2 separate regions of the Homo sapiens genome follow, and region 1 is linked to region 2. Evidence: promoter capture Hi-C in 16 types of primary human blood cells and fetal thymus (Javierre and others, 2016). All regions are on one chromosome and are shown on one strand. Each heading gives the region's core, a stretch centred on a gene start or on the middle of the fragment in contact. The rest is flanking DNA. Distances are from core to core; before and after follow the strand shown.

Evidence for each region. The method cuts DNA at HindIII sites, captures the fragments that hold promoters and counts their contacts. A CHiCAGO score of 5 or more calls a contact.
Region 1: a contact is called between a fragment that was not itself captured here and the fragment with the promoter of FAR2 in region 2, in 1 of 17 cell types (erythroblasts). The highest score is 5.8, in erythroblasts.

The regions. Positions count from the first base shown.
Region 1 is chr12:30,783,779-30,787,945 of GRCh38, forward strand. No RefSeq gene overlaps it. Among named protein-coding and RNA genes, the nearest start is that of LINC00941, 9.8 kb to the right of the region's middle. RefSeq lists an enhancer at 1,711-2,212. The HindIII fragment of the contact is 1,504 bases long and covers 801-2,304 here.
Region 2 is chr12:29,147,609-29,151,697 of GRCh38, forward strand. It overlaps FAR2 (fatty acyl-CoA reductase 2), which reads left to right and starts at 1,670. Exons shown (of 12, transcript NM_001271783.2): 1 at 1,670-1,799. RefSeq lists silencers at 1,518-1,577, 1,888-2,037. The HindIII fragment of the contact is 9,301 bases long and covers 1-4,089 here.

The sequences.
Region 1 (4,167 bases), core at 303-2,802, 1.6 Mb after region 2:
TAAATATTTTAAGGATCTTGTTATATGTTGCCAAATTGCTTTCTCAAAGGATTACATTAATGCTTTCAAACAATAATCAGGAAGTTCTAACTTTAATACAACCTCATCAGCATTGAGTATCACACAACTTAATCTGCTGTACTCATTTAAAACACAATTTTAACAAACGTATTTTCTGGTTTCCCAGCCCTCACAAATTAAAAGCAAAAAATTCAAAGCAGTAAAAACTAATATTGGAAAAGGTATTTAGGCAGATTTTCTGATCACTTGGTAGTGAAAAGAAAGAAATATAAATATAAGAAATAAAATCCTAGACATCTTAGATCATTTAATGGCTAAACACATCTTCAGTCTTTAAAGTCCATGACATCATTGTTTGTTGCAGTATATAACAGTTAATGTTCATTGTAATAATACTAAATGATCCATCAACAAAAATCCAGATGACAGTAAACAAATTTTTGACAGAGCAGGAGCATCACCATCTTGGACAAGCCCCTCATTCTAAAGTTCACCTTAATAAAAAAAAAACGCCTAAATCCAAAGGGTATCAGCCTAATGGCTAAGGTCAGCATAAACCACAATAACCACAAATAACATCTCCAACCAGAAACATTCCAAACTCCTCCCCAATCAGAGACTTGCCAGCCCCGAGATAACCCCCCGCCAGCCAGGAAGATGCCAGCTCCGAGATAACCCCACTCCAAGCCAGAAAGATGTCTGCCCCAAGATAAACTCCCCTCCTCCCAGAGACATTCCAACCCCACCATAAAACTTGTCCCTCACACAGAAACATTCCAAGCTTCTAATAAGCCCCCTTACCCTAAAACCAATATGTTCTCTTAGTCTGTAAGAGAAAGTGCTCCTAACCAAAGTCAGCCAGAAGCCCCTCTCAGGTTTTATCAAAAGTAAACCTGTCTTTACTGTCAAACCACATTTCGTGTCTCTTTCCTGTTTCTTTAACTCTTACAATTTTGTTTTAGGGAGATTTCCATTAACAAGTAAAAATAAAATTTATGCTGAAAGAGGCCATCTCTGGCTGGCTGTATTTTCTTTTTAGACCTTGAATTGGTGTGAAGAGTCATAAGGGTTTGCTAAAGGAGGAGTGAGAAAGTGGGGAGGGTGTGAGCTCCATAATCAGGAATAAAAACCGGGGGTACAAGACCAGGGCAGAAAGTCATTTTAAAATTCCAGAACTTCTGACACATCTTCATATTGGTTATCATTTGTTATCTCCTTCCTATTTTCCTTGGAAGCAGAAGGGCCTGTCTACATATATTCTTGTCTTCCCAAGCAGCAAGGAAGTGGGAAGTTGAGAAAGCTATTTCCTCTCCACACTTTTTCAGGCATATTAAGAATAAGAGAACCCTGAAGGGTATAGTGGCTGGCTAGGTAATCGAAGAGAAAAAAGTAAGTCCTATTTCCTTAGCTCTGCAGCAAAGAAAGAAAGAACTTTGACATCAATCTTCATATGAAGAAAAGGTCATTAAGCTCAGTAGATTAAAAATCTGAAATGATTCTTTAACTGTATCAAACATAAAAATCACCTGGAGGGCTTGATAAAACAGAGATTGTTAATCCCTACTTCAAGAGTCTATGATTTAGTGGGTCTGAATAGAGCCTGTGAACCAAAAAGTGGCTGAGGCAGATCTCAATCGAGTTAGAGGTTTGTTTTGCCAAGGTTGAGGATGTGGCCAGGGAAAAAGAAACACAAGTTACAGTAGAATCTGCGGCCTGTACTTTTTCCAAAGAGGGTTTTGAGGACTTCAATATTTAAAGAGGAAAGAGCAGGTAGAAGAGGAAGGAGAAAAAAAAAGAGGCTGGGTGTAGGCAGTAACATGTTTACATTCTTGTGAGGCTTCTATTAGCCCTTAAAAACTACTCACTGAATCCACATTTTACATGTGAAAAGAGAGTGGTGGGGTTAAAGTCAATTATGCATTCTTCTCATGCTGCGTATATCTACATTTTACATAAGATAAAGTAAGCATAGAGTAGAGGAAGAACTCAATTATGCATTTGTTTGGGGTGGGTGGAGGAATTTCTAGTCTTATGTTTGGCCCTTACCTGTGAAAATAAGCTGTTAATTTGCATTGTCAGGGTAAGATTCAACAGCACTCTATTTTAGGGCAAGTTTATAGGAGGGATATGTATTCTGAAAGATGTGGAGTCCACGAGGAATTTCCTTGTGAGCAATTTGTGAGGGAGGACCCCTGGGAAGATATGTGACCTTCTATTTTGCAGCTATTTGGTTGGGAACAAAAAGGAAGGCAGTTTGATTGCTTTTGTGTGACTCAGTTCCCAAGCTTCACTTTCCCTTTGGCATAGTGAGTTCGGGGTCCCGAGATTTTTATTTTCCATTCACAGCCCTGAGAATTTGCATTTCTAATAAGTTGCTAGGTGATGCAGATAATGTGGGTCCAGGGACCAGATTTTGGGAACCACAGCAGGTATGGTTCCCAGTCCTGACTAATCATCAGAATCACCTGTGATGTTAAAAACAAAACAAGACAAAAAAAGAAAAACAAACAAACAAACAAAAAAACCAGATTCCCAAGAGCCTCATGCCAGAAGCCACCAATTTGAATCTTCAGAAGTGGAGCCACCGGGAACCTGTTTATTTGATAAAGCTCCCCATTAGATCCTGGCGTTCAGCAGATGCAGAGTTCCACAGCCCCAGAGTACTCAGGATTATGCTAAACATTTAGTCAGTGTCTAAGAAAGCCTTGATTGATGGGCTGATTTAGATCCGGAGGCACTTTCAGCAGTAAAATGTGAATCCTTTTGTATGCTAAGTTTTTATTTAATTTGTGATGATGATATTCTTTGGAGAAGATCTGTACTGGTCTCTTAGCTACATAAAAATGAGCACTTTTGTAAAGGAAGTTCTCACAATTCTAATAGACAAATTAAAAAACTCTAGCACAACCATGTAAATCATCAGAATATTTCCATAGCAATAGCACAAAAACTTAAAAAAAAATAAGGAGTCCCACTTTGGGAGGCCGAGGCGGGTGGATCACGAGGTCAAGAGATCGAGACCATCCCGGCTAAAACGGTGAAACCCCGTCTCTACTAAAAATACAAAAAAATTAGCCGGGCGTAGTGGCGGGCGCCTGTAGTCCCAGCTACTTGGGAGGCTGAGGCAGGAGAATGGCGTGAACCCGGGAGGCGGAGCTTGCAGTGAGCCGAGATCCCGCCACTGCACTCCAGCCTGGGCGACAGAGCGAGACTCCGTCTCAAAAAAAAAAATAAATAAATTTAAAAAAAAAAAAAAAGATAATAATAATAATAAAAAATAAGGAGTCCAAATGGAATTATCCTGAGATTCTGTCAGATTTATCCTTTAGAAATTAATAGTTGCCTTTTATCAGAATTTCCTGGCAATGTAACTAGATTGGTGGCTCATATGCTTATCAAAATTTAGTAGGTTAGATTTTCCAGGTAACATTACTTTCTTTCCTGATATTCTTCATAGGCTGGTTTTTACAACATATTTCTCCTGGTAACTAACTGTCTATTTAGCAGAGATTAAAAGCAGAACAATGTTCTTATTTTTTCAAGTATTTTATTTCATAAAAAGGAGAGTTGTCACTTCAATAATCTCTGACTAAATTAGGAGTTGGATAATATGGGTCTAAACTGTGTAATTTCATCTTTTCTTCATTTCCATAATGGTTCTAGGTCACATTTCTTACTAACAAACTTCTAAATTTTGTGCAACCTACTTAACTGAAATGAACCATTAAGCTTTGGCTTGTTACACATTTGCACAAATGAAGAAATGGCTTGTGAGCTTAACTCTAAATTGTGGTTCATTTAGAGAAGTGGTTACTGTATAATTTGTAGATTGGGTACTGAACTCAGTATTTTTGAAATTAGATAATAGAGAGCTAATAGTGACCCAAATGGAAAAACACACCTTATGTTCACTAATGAAATGTAAAATAGAATTCATCATTCTCCATGTGATGACAAAGAGCACAAAAGCAATGTGAAAATTAACTTAATTGGAAATATTGTAAAATTATTTTCAATATCATACGTTAAATTAAGGCGTTGCTTTGATTGCTAAGTAGATAATAGAAAAAGCCGAAGTGGTAAGCCTTGTTAGAATTTGTGCAAATGCTTTACAAATTGCTGATTTTCTAGTACCATCACAACATT
Region 2 (4,089 bases), core at 420-2,919:
TTATGGATTATCTCCTTTGAATACATTGTAAGACATGGGAATCTAGGTCCAGAACAAGAAAAAATTTCGTTACTGAACACCTTGGGAATGTGTTGCTAAATTGCTTTCCAACAAAAGCGTGATTACAATTTACCTTCCATCTGCTATCTGTTAAGTGATTTCTATACGTTTTCACCAGCATTTGACATTATCATTTGAAGTGCTGTCACACACATTTTGAAGATACATTCAAATTTATTCTTGAGGAGGGGAGGGGTAACGAAAAATACTATAAATTTGGTTGTAACTTTTTTTCTGTCTCTTGCATTCAGGCGGTCACCAGAGGAAATTAGTCAGTGCCTTTAGGCTACACTTAGCTTAACACATTTCATTAAAGAGCCCAGTAGTAGAGAATTCAAGATGGGTGTTATTATTTTAATTTCATGAAATCACTCCTTAATTCTAACTTTCAAAAGTCAAATTTTATTTCTTTAATTGCATGTGGATTGTTATAATGAGGAGAATCAGAACAGCTTATAGGACAATATTTCTTTTCTATTTTTCTTAACACACCATATTTATTTGGAAATTTACCTCCTACATTGTCCAGGGAATTAGGATGGGCGTTGGCCGTTTTTCAGCACTTCCTGGTTGAGGCCAAGGGCTCCACTCACGTGCCTGTCCATCCCTCTACAAGGCTTCCCTGGCAGCTTGTTTTTCCGTTTAAAATTTAACAATGACCAAATCCCAAAAAAGCTACCAGGCTAAGAAATGAAACATCTTTTTTTCTTTTAAGTCCGGAGAAGTGCTGCTGAGCACAGCTGGCTCACTGCTGTTTCTGCGGCCCCCATCTCTGATCCTTTCTAGTCTCCTACCCACCCCCACCCCACCATAGGCAGGCAGAGCCGGATTTCTGCCCTTCAAACCCCGAGTGTGAGGAAGCCTCACCTGAAGTCCTCGCATCACCCTCCACCCTCACGCCCTTGGGTTTTAAAAAGCCACTGCGTTCGTGGGTCACTGCAGGGCGCCTCCGCAATGTCTTTAGCAGATACAAGAGCATCCCTCCCACGGGATGTGCAGTGTAGTCAAGCTGAGTAAACTGGGATTTTTGGCTGCCTTTTCTGCTAGGGTGGGTGGGGAAAGGTATGTCCCCCAAGCGTTCAGTTCAGACTAGAACCTTTGAATCTCTCTCCTGTCTCGGTCTCTCCCTCCACCCCCCTACCCCGCCACCTTTCACGGTGTGGGAGTTCTCCTTTCCCACACCAGAGAGGGGCGCCTTTCTAGCTTCCTTGTCCCCTCGCCCACTGATTAAAAAATGGAGAAAAAAACCAACCCCAAAACCCAAAACAAAACAAAACAAAAGCCCCAAACAAACAAACAAACCAAACCCACCGAAACCAAAACCAACTCCCCTCCCCCAAACCACACAAATGCGGGAGTCATAGCCAGTGGATCCGCTGGTGCTGAACGAATGGAAGCGCGGGGCGGGCCTGCGCGCGCGGCCGCCCTGCCCACGATGCTGTCGCCCCCGCGACCTGTAGGGCCTTCGCTGGCCCCTCACCCTCCTCCCGCCCCGGGCTGAGGCTGCCGCCGGTTTCGCGCCCAGTGCCGAGGCAGCGGCGGAGCCGGGGAAGGTCGGAGGGAGGGTGGTTTCCTCCCGCCCCACACCCAGTCTCCGAGCCGGATATATAGAGTGTCACGTTTGGGAGCCGAAAGACTGGAGCCGTTTCCTTGTGGCTGGAGCGCTTCCCGTAGCCTCGGGGAAGGAGCAGGATTTAGAGGACCACTAGTTGGACCCCATCCTCGTGCTGGAGGAACAGGTATTCCAGGGTCCCCAGCCCTGGCGCTCGCAGAGCCCACGCGCTCCAAAAGCAGAGACCGGACTGGGGGTGGCCCAGGAGGGAGGGCTCGGCTGGGTTCGCAGGGCGGGGCGGTTCCCGGCGGGACCTCGAGGAGGGTGGGTGTGAGGCCGGGTGGGAGGAGAGAAGCATTTGCGGAGGCTCTGCCCCCTGAAGCTGCCCCCGGCTGCACCCCAATCGTCACCGGCCGTTTACGCGCGGTTGGCGTCGGCGGAGCCCGCCAAGGTGGGGCGCGCGGGGGTTGCAAAGGGCAGAAAGCCGGGAAGGACCCAGCAAGGTTAATGTGGGGGGCCGCGCCTTGGGGACTGGGGACCCGGGAAGAGAGGCGCGGGGCCGAGTCCCACCCAGGCCTCCTGGGCCCTTGGGGCTATTCCTGGAGAGAGCGCGAAAATGCCGGGGCCACGTGTGAAACGGCAGCGGTCCTAGGTCCCCTCCCGGTGCCTGGGACCGCCAGGGCGCCCAGTCCTGGTCCCCGGAGCAGGTCCTCGCCAGCCCCCAGCCCCACCCCAGGCTGCGCACGTCCCTACCCTCCCACCTGGGCCTCGCCGGGGTCGTGGCTGACGCGCGCTGGGGCGACTGGTGAGGCCAGGGCGGGCTTTGCCCCTGTAGGAAGTTTTAGACATCTTCCTGCGGCCTGGGCATCCTGGGGGTGTGCAGGGGAGCAGGTGCCAGCAGACTCCCAACTGGAGTAGATGGCTTGCAGGAAGGCTGCTCAACACTCCTAGCAAGTAGAATTACCCGCGGGGCAGTCTCAGTCTATTAAAACAATTCATGCCCAATCGTATCCTACAAACCAGAGGAAGGCGTCTCACCTGCCAGCGGTGGCACCATTTCTTCCACGGTTGAGTTATGTGGTGTGAGCAACCAAGGTTATCGCTGGATCTGCAAGAGTTTGGCCACTCGTTGAATCACGTAAAGTGCCCCCATTATGTGATGAGCAAGGACAGAGTAGGGTCAGAAAAGTGACCAGGGAATTCAGGTAGATCGTGCTTTTCTGTTTGCTAGGTTGAGAGAAATTTGACACTGGGCAAATGGAAATTTGAGAATTACCCCGTGGTTTCAATTACCCATCTCTGTATATTCCCATTTATAAGAGCTGGAGATTTGACTGACAGGTGTAGTTAGTCCAAAATTTAGAAAGGGGGGCAAGGGACTAAATAAAAACTTAAGGCAGCCACCTAAACTGCAAGAGCAGGCATTTCCGCAGAAGGGATATTTGTGTGTGAGACTTCTAGGAGATGGGCATGAGGTTTTTACCAGGCCGACGCGTGTGTCAATATTTCATCGGTAGTATTTCTCAGGATCCACGTCTTTACAGTACTCTTTTCCTAATTCTGAGGGCTGCTTCTGCCCCTGCTGTATTAACAAATTCCTCACTTACTCCTATTTCTAACATTGGGCTATAATTATCTATAAAAGAGATGTAAATCACCATGAGTTGGTAAATCATACAGCTATTAGAGAAATTAAAGTAAATGAAAATATGCTTTCCTTAAAGGAAGCTAAAATGTGACATCCAGTTACAGAGGAAGAGGGAGAGGTTGAAAATAAATAAAATGGCTTATATTAGGGTATCACTTTGGGGTTTATAAAGCATATGATCATCTTGACCATCTCACCATCTGCTTTCCTATCTCCTGAGGAAGAAGCATTCTTGAGTGCATTTGTTTCTGGCAACGTCTCATCAGTGTTAAGAATTCCTTGATTTTGCATTAATTCCCATGCACTCATGAAAACTTACTTATTCACAAATATAGCCTTGTGAAGGATCATGCACAGTGACCACCAGCATGCTTGTCCCTACCAATATATTCTGACATTGTAGGCTCTGTTGGAACATGTATTACCTTTGAAGAGGGTAACAGACCAATTTGAGAATCTGATGAAAGCTATGGAATATGAAAGACAAATGCATACATATTAACACAAAATTCCACCTACAATTTCAGGAGTTCATGGCCTCCTTGATGCCCAGCCTCCTACATTCTAGATGTCCAGAGGCTCCAGGCAGGGCCAGCTTCATGGAAATACAAAACTGCAACCGCACAGGGCCTTGCACTTGGAAGGGCCCTGCGTTTGGTAATGTTCTGCTATCACCGTCTGCTGGCTTAATAATTTTCAAAGAGGCTCTGGATCTTCATTTTGAACTGGGTCCTACAAATTATATCCTGACCCCAGGCTGACAAACTTGGTCTAAAACTAACCAAATAACAGTGTTTGAACAGCAATCCCACATTTACGGTGAGTTCTC